Regions from separate parts of the Homo sapiens genome. Here region 1 is linked to region 2. Evidence: promoter capture Hi-C in 16 types of primary human blood cells and fetal thymus (Javierre and others, 2016). All regions are on one chromosome and are shown on one strand. Each heading gives the region's core, a stretch centred on a gene start or on the middle of the fragment in contact. The rest is flanking DNA. Distances are from core to core; before and after follow the strand shown.

The links. The method cuts DNA at HindIII sites, captures the fragments that hold promoters and counts their contacts. A CHiCAGO score of 5 or more calls a contact.
Region 1: a contact is called between a fragment that was not itself captured here and the fragment with the promoter of GUCA2B in region 2, in 2 of 17 cell types (total CD4 T cells and neutrophils). The highest score is 6.7, in total CD4 T cells.

Annotation. Positions count from the first base shown.
Region 1 is chr1:41,599,185-41,603,319 of GRCh38, reverse strand. The region is part of intron 3 of HIVEP3 (HIVEP zinc finger 3); the gene reads left to right. The region is part of intron 1 of LOC128125817; the gene reads left to right. Among named protein-coding and RNA genes, the nearest start is that of EDN2, 120 kb to the right of the region's middle. The HindIII fragment of the contact is 2,226 bases long and covers 1,446-3,671 here.
Region 2 is chr1:42,151,630-42,155,407 of GRCh38, reverse strand. It overlaps GUCA2B (guanylate cyclase activator 2B), which reads right to left and starts at 1,998. Exons shown (of 3, transcript NM_007102.3): 1 at 1,868-1,998; 2 at 542-728. The coding sequence starts at 1,957. The HindIII fragment of the contact is 11,651 bases long and covers 1-3,778 here.

The DNA of each region.
Region 1 (4,135 bases), core at 1,309-3,808, 550 kb after region 2:
GAGGTGGGTGGATCACCTGAGGTCAGCAGTTCGAGACCAGCCTGGCCAACATGGTGAAACCACATCGCTACTAAAGATACAAAAAAGTAGCTGAGCATGACAGTGCGTGCCTGTAATCCCAGCTATTCAGGAGGCTGGGGCAGGAGAATTGCTTGAACCCGGGAGGTGGAGGTTGCAGTGAGCAGAGATCGCGCCGCTACACTGCAGCCTGGGTGACAGGGCGAGACTCAGTCTCAAAAAATAAAAAATAAAAATAAATAAATAAATAGAAATGGAAATCAACAGCAGAAGGAAATTGAAAATTCAAAAATATGTGGAAATTAAATGACACACTGTAAACAACCATTGGGTCAAAGAAGAAATCAAAAAAGAAATTAGAAAATACCTCAAGAGAAATGAAAACAAAAACACAACATACCAAAACTTATAGGATTCAGCAAAACCTGTACTCAGAGAGTTCGTTGTGATAAATGCCTACATTAAAATAGAAGAAGGATCTCAAATAAGCAACCTAACTTTATACCTCAAAGACCTAGAAAAAGAAATTAAGGCCAAGGTTAACAGAAGGAAAGATATAAGGATTACAGAAGAAATAAACAATACAAAAACAATAGGAAAAAAATCAATGAAACTAAGAGTTGGTTTTTTGAAAAGATTTTTTAAATTGACAAATCATTAGCTATGCTAGAAAAAAAGAGAGGAGACTCAAATAAATAAAATTATAAATTAAAGAAGAGACATCACAACTGATGCCACAGAAATAAAAAGGATAAGAGACTACTATGAACAATTCTATGCCAACAAGCTGGATAACTTAAAAGAAATGGATATGTTCCCAGAAAAATACAAGACTAAATTATGAAGAAATATAAAGTCTAAACAGACCTATAACTAATATGAAGATTGAGTCAGTAATCAAAAAACTCCCAACAAGGAAAAGCCCAGGACCAGATAGCTTCACTGGTGAATTCTACCAAAATATTTTTTAAAGATTTAACATTGATCCTTCTGAAAATCTTCCAAAAAAAATTGAAGAGGAGGGAACACCTCCAAACTCATTTTATGAGGCTAGCATTACTCTGATACAAAAGCTAAACAAAGACACCACAAGAAAAGAAAACTACAGGCTAATATTCTTAATGAATATAGATGCAAAAATCCTCAACAAAATACTAGCACATCAAACCAAATAGTGCATTAAAGGGATCATACACCATGACCAAGTGGGATTTATCCCTGGGATACAAAGATGGTTCAATATACAAAAGTTAATTAATGTTATACATCACATTATCAGAATAAAGACTTAAAATCACATGAGCATCTCAACAGATGCAGAAAAGGCATTTGACAAAATTCAACACACCCTTTTTGATCAAAGTTCTCAAAAAACTAAGACTAGAGGGAAAGTACTTCAACATAATAAAAGCCATATATAACAAGCTTACAGCTAATACTATACTCAGTGGTGAAAAACGGAAAAGTTTTTTCTCTAAAATCAGGAAGAAGCTAAGGGCAAGAATGCCCTTGCTTGCCATTTCTATTCAAGACAGTACTGGAAGTCCTAGCCAGAGCAATTAGGCAAGAAAAAAAATTAAAGACATTTAAATCAGAAAGGAAGAAGTAAAATTGTTCCTGTTTGCAGACAAAATAATATAAAATCCTAAAGATGCCATTAAAAAGTATTAGAACTAATTAACAAATTTAGTAAAGTTGCAGGATACAAAATCATTTACAAAAATCAGTGGCATTTCTATACACTAACAACAAACTAGCTGAAAAGAAAATTAGAAAAATAATGTCACTTATAATAACACCTAAAACAATACTTAGGAATGAACTTAGCTAAGGAAATGAAAGACTTGTGTACTGGAAACTACAAAACATTTAATAAAGAAATTAAAGAAGACACAAACAAAGAGAAAGACATCCTGTGTTCATGGATTGGAAGAATTAATATTGTTAACATGTCCATACTACCCAAAACAATCTACAGAGTCAATGAAACCCCCATAAAAATCTCAATTACATTACTTTGCCTAAATAGAAAAAACAATTCTGTGATTTATATGGAACCACAAAAAACACAAATAGCCAAATCAATCCTCTGACACAAGAACAAAGCTGGAAGCCTCACATTTCCTAATTTCAAAGCATAAAAAATTACACTAATCAAAACAGTATGGTACTGACATAAAGACAGACATGTAGACCAATGAAACAGAACAGAGAACCCGAAATAAATCCAGTATATATGCTGACTGATCTTCAACACGGGTGCCAAGAAAACACAATGGAGGAAGGGTAGTCTCTTCAATAAATGGTGCTGGGAAAACTGGATATTCATATGCAAAAGAATGAAATTGGATTCTTATCTTACATAAAAATTAACCATACATAAAAATCACCGTACATAAAGATCAACTCAAAATGGATTAAAGACTTGGATGTAAAACCTAAGACTGTAAAACTCCTAGAAGAAAACATAGGAGAAAACTTTATGACATAAAACTTCTAGAAGAAAACATAGGGGAAAACTTCATGACATATTCTTATTGACCATTTAGATAACCTCTTGCTTGTAGTGCCTGTTAAAATCTTTTGCTATTTTAAAAATTGTGGTAAAATAGACATAACATTGACCAACTTTACTATTTTAAATTCAGTAGTGTTAAGCAGTCACATTGCTGCGCAACCAATCTCTAGATTACTTTTCATTCTGAAAAGCTGAAACTGTATACCCATAAAACAACAGCCCCCCATTCCCACAGCCTCTGGCAACCACCAGTTGACTTTCTGTCTCTATGAATTTGATTACTCTAAGTACTTCATATAAGTGAAATTATGCAGTATTTGTTCATTTGTGGCTGGCTTATCTTACTTAGCATAATGTCATCAAGTTTCATACACACAATGGAATATTATTCCGTCTTAAAGAAGGAAATTCTGACACATGCTACAACATGAATGAATTTTTTATCCATTCATTCATCAATGGACATTTGGATTGCTTCCACCTTTGGCTGTTGTAAATCATGCCGCTATGAACATAGATGTACACATATCTCTTTGAGACTCTGATTTCAATTCTTTTGAGTATATACCCAGAAGGGGAATTGCTGGATTAGATGGTAATTCTATTTTTTATTTTTTGAGGAACTACCACAGTGTTTTCCATAGAGGCTGCACCGTTTTACATTCCTACCAGCAGAGTGCAACAGTTCCACTCACTTTCTCTACATCCTTGCAAATACTTCTTTTTCTTTTTTTTGTTGTAGCCATTTTAATGTGTGTGAGGTGGTATCTTCGTGGTTTTGATTTTTCATTTCCCTAGTAATTGGTAATGGTGAGCATCTTTTCACGTGCTTCTTGGCCATTTGTAGATCTTCTTTGGAGAAACGTCTCTTCAAGTCCTTTGCTCATTTTTTTAAAAATCGTTTTGCTTGGCTTTTTGTTGTTGAGTTTTGGAGTTCTGCATGTTAATCCCTTATCAGATATATGATTTGCAAGCGTTTTCTCTCATTCTTGTCTTTTTACTCTGTTGATGTTGTCCTTTCACGCATAGAAGATTTTAAATTTTGATGTAGGCAATTTATCTATTTGTACTTTTGTTGTGTATGCTTTTGGTGCCACATCTAAGAAGTTACTGCCAAATCCAATGTGATGAAGCTTCTTCCTTATGTTTTCTAAGAGTTCTATAGTTTTATCTCTGAGTTTAGGTCTTTGATTCATTTTGAGTTAACTTTTGCCATTTTCAGGTGCGTTGACTGCCTTTTTCTTACTCATTTTTAGGAATTTGTTTTCAAACATGTGTTGCAAATATCCTCTCCCAACCCATGGTTTGTCTTTCTACTCTATTATTAGAGTCTTTGTTGAACAGAAGTTTTAAATTTTAATGAAGCACAATTTAGCTTCTCTCCTTTATGATTATGTGATTACGCGTTTGTCAATCGAGTAAGAAATCTTTGCCTACCCCAAGTTCCGTGAAGATATTTTCTTGTTTTCTTCTACAAGCTTTATTGTTTAATCTTTTGTATTCAGGCCTATCATTTATTCATTTCACATTCGTTTTCTGTGTATGGTATGATATCGGGGGTCAAGGTTCATTTTTTAATATGGATATCCAATAGCTTTA
Region 2 (3,778 bases), core at 749-3,248:
TGAGGGCTTGGGTTCAAGTCCCAGATGCTCTCCTTCCTAGCGGCCACTGGGCAAGTCACTCACACTCCCTGTGCCTGAGATTTCTTGTTTGCTAAATGGACAGGGTCACTGTGAGGAGATAATGCAGGACCGACAAGTCCCGGCACACAGTAGGTGCTCAGTAAGTGCTAGCTAGTTGCTACATTCTCGTGCCTGGCTCTGCACGATCCCTCAGGTTTCAGCTTGGCTGACACCTCCTCTTGGAAGCCTTTCACACCCCTGTCCCATCGCAGATGTCAGCCAGCTCTCCTCTCTGCTCCACGCAGCCATTGTCTGTTGATGGGTCTGTGCCTGGCGTGGACTAAGGGGACGAAGCAGGTTCCAGGCATGCCTGACTCACAGTGCCCAAACCGGGGAGTCCTGGGAGCCAGTGGGACAGGGCCTGAGTTACTTGAATCTCCCCATCCTCAGCCGCTGGGTGCTTAAGAGAAACAACCCAGGTGGAGGAGCCTGGGCGTGGGAGGAGACAGAGCGAGGTTCTGCAGGGAGCGGGGGCACTTACTCAGGGTCTTGAAGATGCTGGAAGCCTCCTGCGAGGCGCAGACAGGCTGAAGGTCCTGAGGCAGAGCAGGGTGGTGGCACACGGCGGGCAGGAGGCTCTGGGCCTGCAGGCGGGGGCTGGGTGCCCACTGTGCCTCCAGGTCACTCAGCTTCTTCATGGATTCCAGCTGGACCCGGAAGCCTTGGTACTACAGACAGGGGAGAGGAGATAGGAGCAGGTCAAGACCTGGTCCAGGGGCAGGCACTGCCATGACACCCAGGGTTGCTCAAACCCTGCAGATCCTCCAGAGCCTTCCCCGTCTCTATGGGAAGTCCAGGGCCACACTGGAAAGAGCCGCTGCGGTGAGAGGTGTGAGGAAGAAGCAGCGGGGCTGTGGAGCACAGTGGTTCGAGGCTTTAGAGACAGACAAGCCCTGGTTCAAATCCCACCTCTGCCCATGACCGGCTGCCTGTCTGTTCCCCACTCAGCCTCAGTTCCCTCATCTGACATCTCCCGTGGGGGCCTGGTACCAGGGCACAATCACTAACTGAGTACGCCTGCCTGAGCTCACATGGCAGAGTGATGGCAGCCCCAAGTAGCTGGTCTCTGAGGCCAGGGCTGTTGGGGAGGCCAAGTCTCCTGCACCCCTCTCTGGGACCCACTTTGTTCTTCCCAAGGAGACCATGCCCAGAGTCAGGGATGTGACACCCAGGGCCACAGACGTCTCTGCTATGCTGGGCGAGGCCAGCAGCATCCCCTGTGACGTGGCAGACAGGCCCTGCTGTGACGACTACTGCCACTCTCCCATGCCCCCTGGAAGGGCACTGGAACCCCCATAGTCTTCTATCTGGTCTTTGCACATGCTGTGCCCCTTGGCCTGGAACAGTTTCCCCATCATCTGTGTCTGGCAACCTCCTGTTCATCTTGCAATGCCAGCTCAAGGGTTACTTCTCAGGAAAATTTTTCTGGAGCCTGTCCTCCTCCACCTACATGTGGGTGAATATACGGAACTGTGGGAGCATAACAGGGTGTCTCCTTCCCTTTCTGGCCTCCTCCCATGCAAGGAGGAGCCTTCTGTTCCACACCCTGACCTCTGTGACCAGCACGGGCCTTTGAGGGGAGCAGCGCTGAATCAGTTTGGTGTTGTCATTGCCATCATCACTGCCATCAACATCTGGCTGCCCCCACCCACCAGCTGCCTTGGTCTCTGGGCTGTGATGGGTGTTGGGCTGAGCCCCGGGCCCCGTGCTCCCCCGGTGCCCCTCTGAATTCCCAGTACACCCTCTCCAGCCTAGCCTCCCACCATGGGGCCCTTCAGGCAAAGGGAACGCTGGCCAAGGGACTCACCTGGATGTAGACTGACTGTGTGCTCTGCAGCAGCAGCAGGAGGACCACGGCCACTCCTGGCAGGAGCCCTGATGCAGCCCTGCAGCCCATCGCGCTCCCTGGGTTCCCCCTGCCGCTGTCCACCGTCTCCCATCTGTGTCCCTGCCTAGCACCTCCTTATAGGTCAGGCTCAGGAGTCCTGGTCACTCATTAACTGGCCAGCTGGGGTGGGGTTGACAGCTAGCTGGCTCTCTGACAAGCCGGGGCTGGTTCCTAGGAAGGGGGTTGGGGGCGAGGAGGGCAGGAGCCCAGAGTCTATGGGAACACAGTGCTTGAACACCGAGTGCCTGCCATGTGCCGGGCTCTCCATGGGGGCCTTGGAGCACACCATCATTCACTCCTCAAGACACCTGTGTGGGTGTGATGACGGGGAGGCCATTTTACAGACAGGAAAAGTGAGGCTCAGGAGGGAGGGTGGCTTTCCCCAGGTCACGGAGCTAGTTAATGTCAGAGAAGGGGCTCCAGCCAGGTGTCCTTGGCCCAGGTCAGCCCATGGTCCTTTCTCTGGGGGAAGGATACAGACAGAGAGGCTGGTCCAGGGCAAAGTGGGCAGACACTGCTGATTTCAGGGTTCTCAAGACCCCACTCCCCCAAGACCCACATCTCTCTCACTCCCTCTCCTCAGTGCTATTTAACGACTATCTTTCAGACCAGTCCTGGCCCCACGTTTTGAACCTGCCTCTGCTTGCCATCTCCCACCTGTGCCTGGGTGCTTCAGGCCATGTTTGACCCATCTCACCTGTCTGTGCTTTCAGAAGCCAATAGCCTAATCCAGCATGGAGGAAAAGGCAGTAGTGTTGGAGGCAGATTGACCCGCATTCAAATCCTAGTCCTGCTGCAGCTGTGTGATTTAGGATACGTCACATCAATTCTAATGGAATCTTAGTTTTCTCTTCCATCAAATGGGCATGATACAACCCCTCTCGTAAGGTTGCTGTGAGGGCCCCGGCCCACCTGAGGTTGCCCTTATCTCCTGGGTAATGCATCCATAGCAGCCCCTGAATCTTACAGTTGCCTTCTAGGCAATGCATAACCTACTGCCCCAGTGGTTGAAGGTTGGGTCAGAGAGAAGAGGGCAAAGTCTCTAAGGGTGATATCACCACTGCCATACCAGGCAGCTGTAAACAGTGCGTGTGCCAGGGCTCAGCTCTGCCAGGCACAGACTCTGGCATGTGGCAGGCTCCCCTGACATTGAGCCTGAACGTTGGATTGAAGCCCTGATAGCTCACCTTGGCATTTAAGATGCCACTCCCAAAAGTGGCTAAAATCTGATGTCATCGTGCTTCCCCATACCAACCCTATTTGCACAGGTCTAATCCCATCTCATGTCTTTGCCTACTCATTCCACCTGCCTGAAATGCCATCTTCCTTTTTCTTATCTCAGACTGAAATGAAGAAGAAGCTCAAGTGAACTTTGGAATTTCTTATGTATTGCTTTGAATCCAGACTTCAGCCTTTGCTCTTTAGAGTCTATGGAAATGAAGGGAATCTTACATGCCCTCTAATCTGTAAAATGAAAACAACCATCTGGGAATAATAGCTCTCATTTCTTGAATACTGTGCACAAAGCTATGTTATAGTCGTAATCCCATTGAATCCTAAAGGATAGGCATAATGGTTATTCCCATTTTACAGATGAGTAACCTGAGGCCCAATGAAGCACCATGTTTGTTGTCACTGTGGGAGCAAGAGGGGTAAGCAGATTTTCTACCTGGAATTCTTGCCTTTGCTCAGCCTGTGGTGTTATAGAAAAAGGAACTGAGGACTTAGAGATGAGGAGAGCTGGGTTCAAACCCGAATGACAGCACTTACCAGCTGTGTGATCTTTGGTACATTACTTAGCTTCTCTGAGCCTCCGCTTCTTCATCAGTA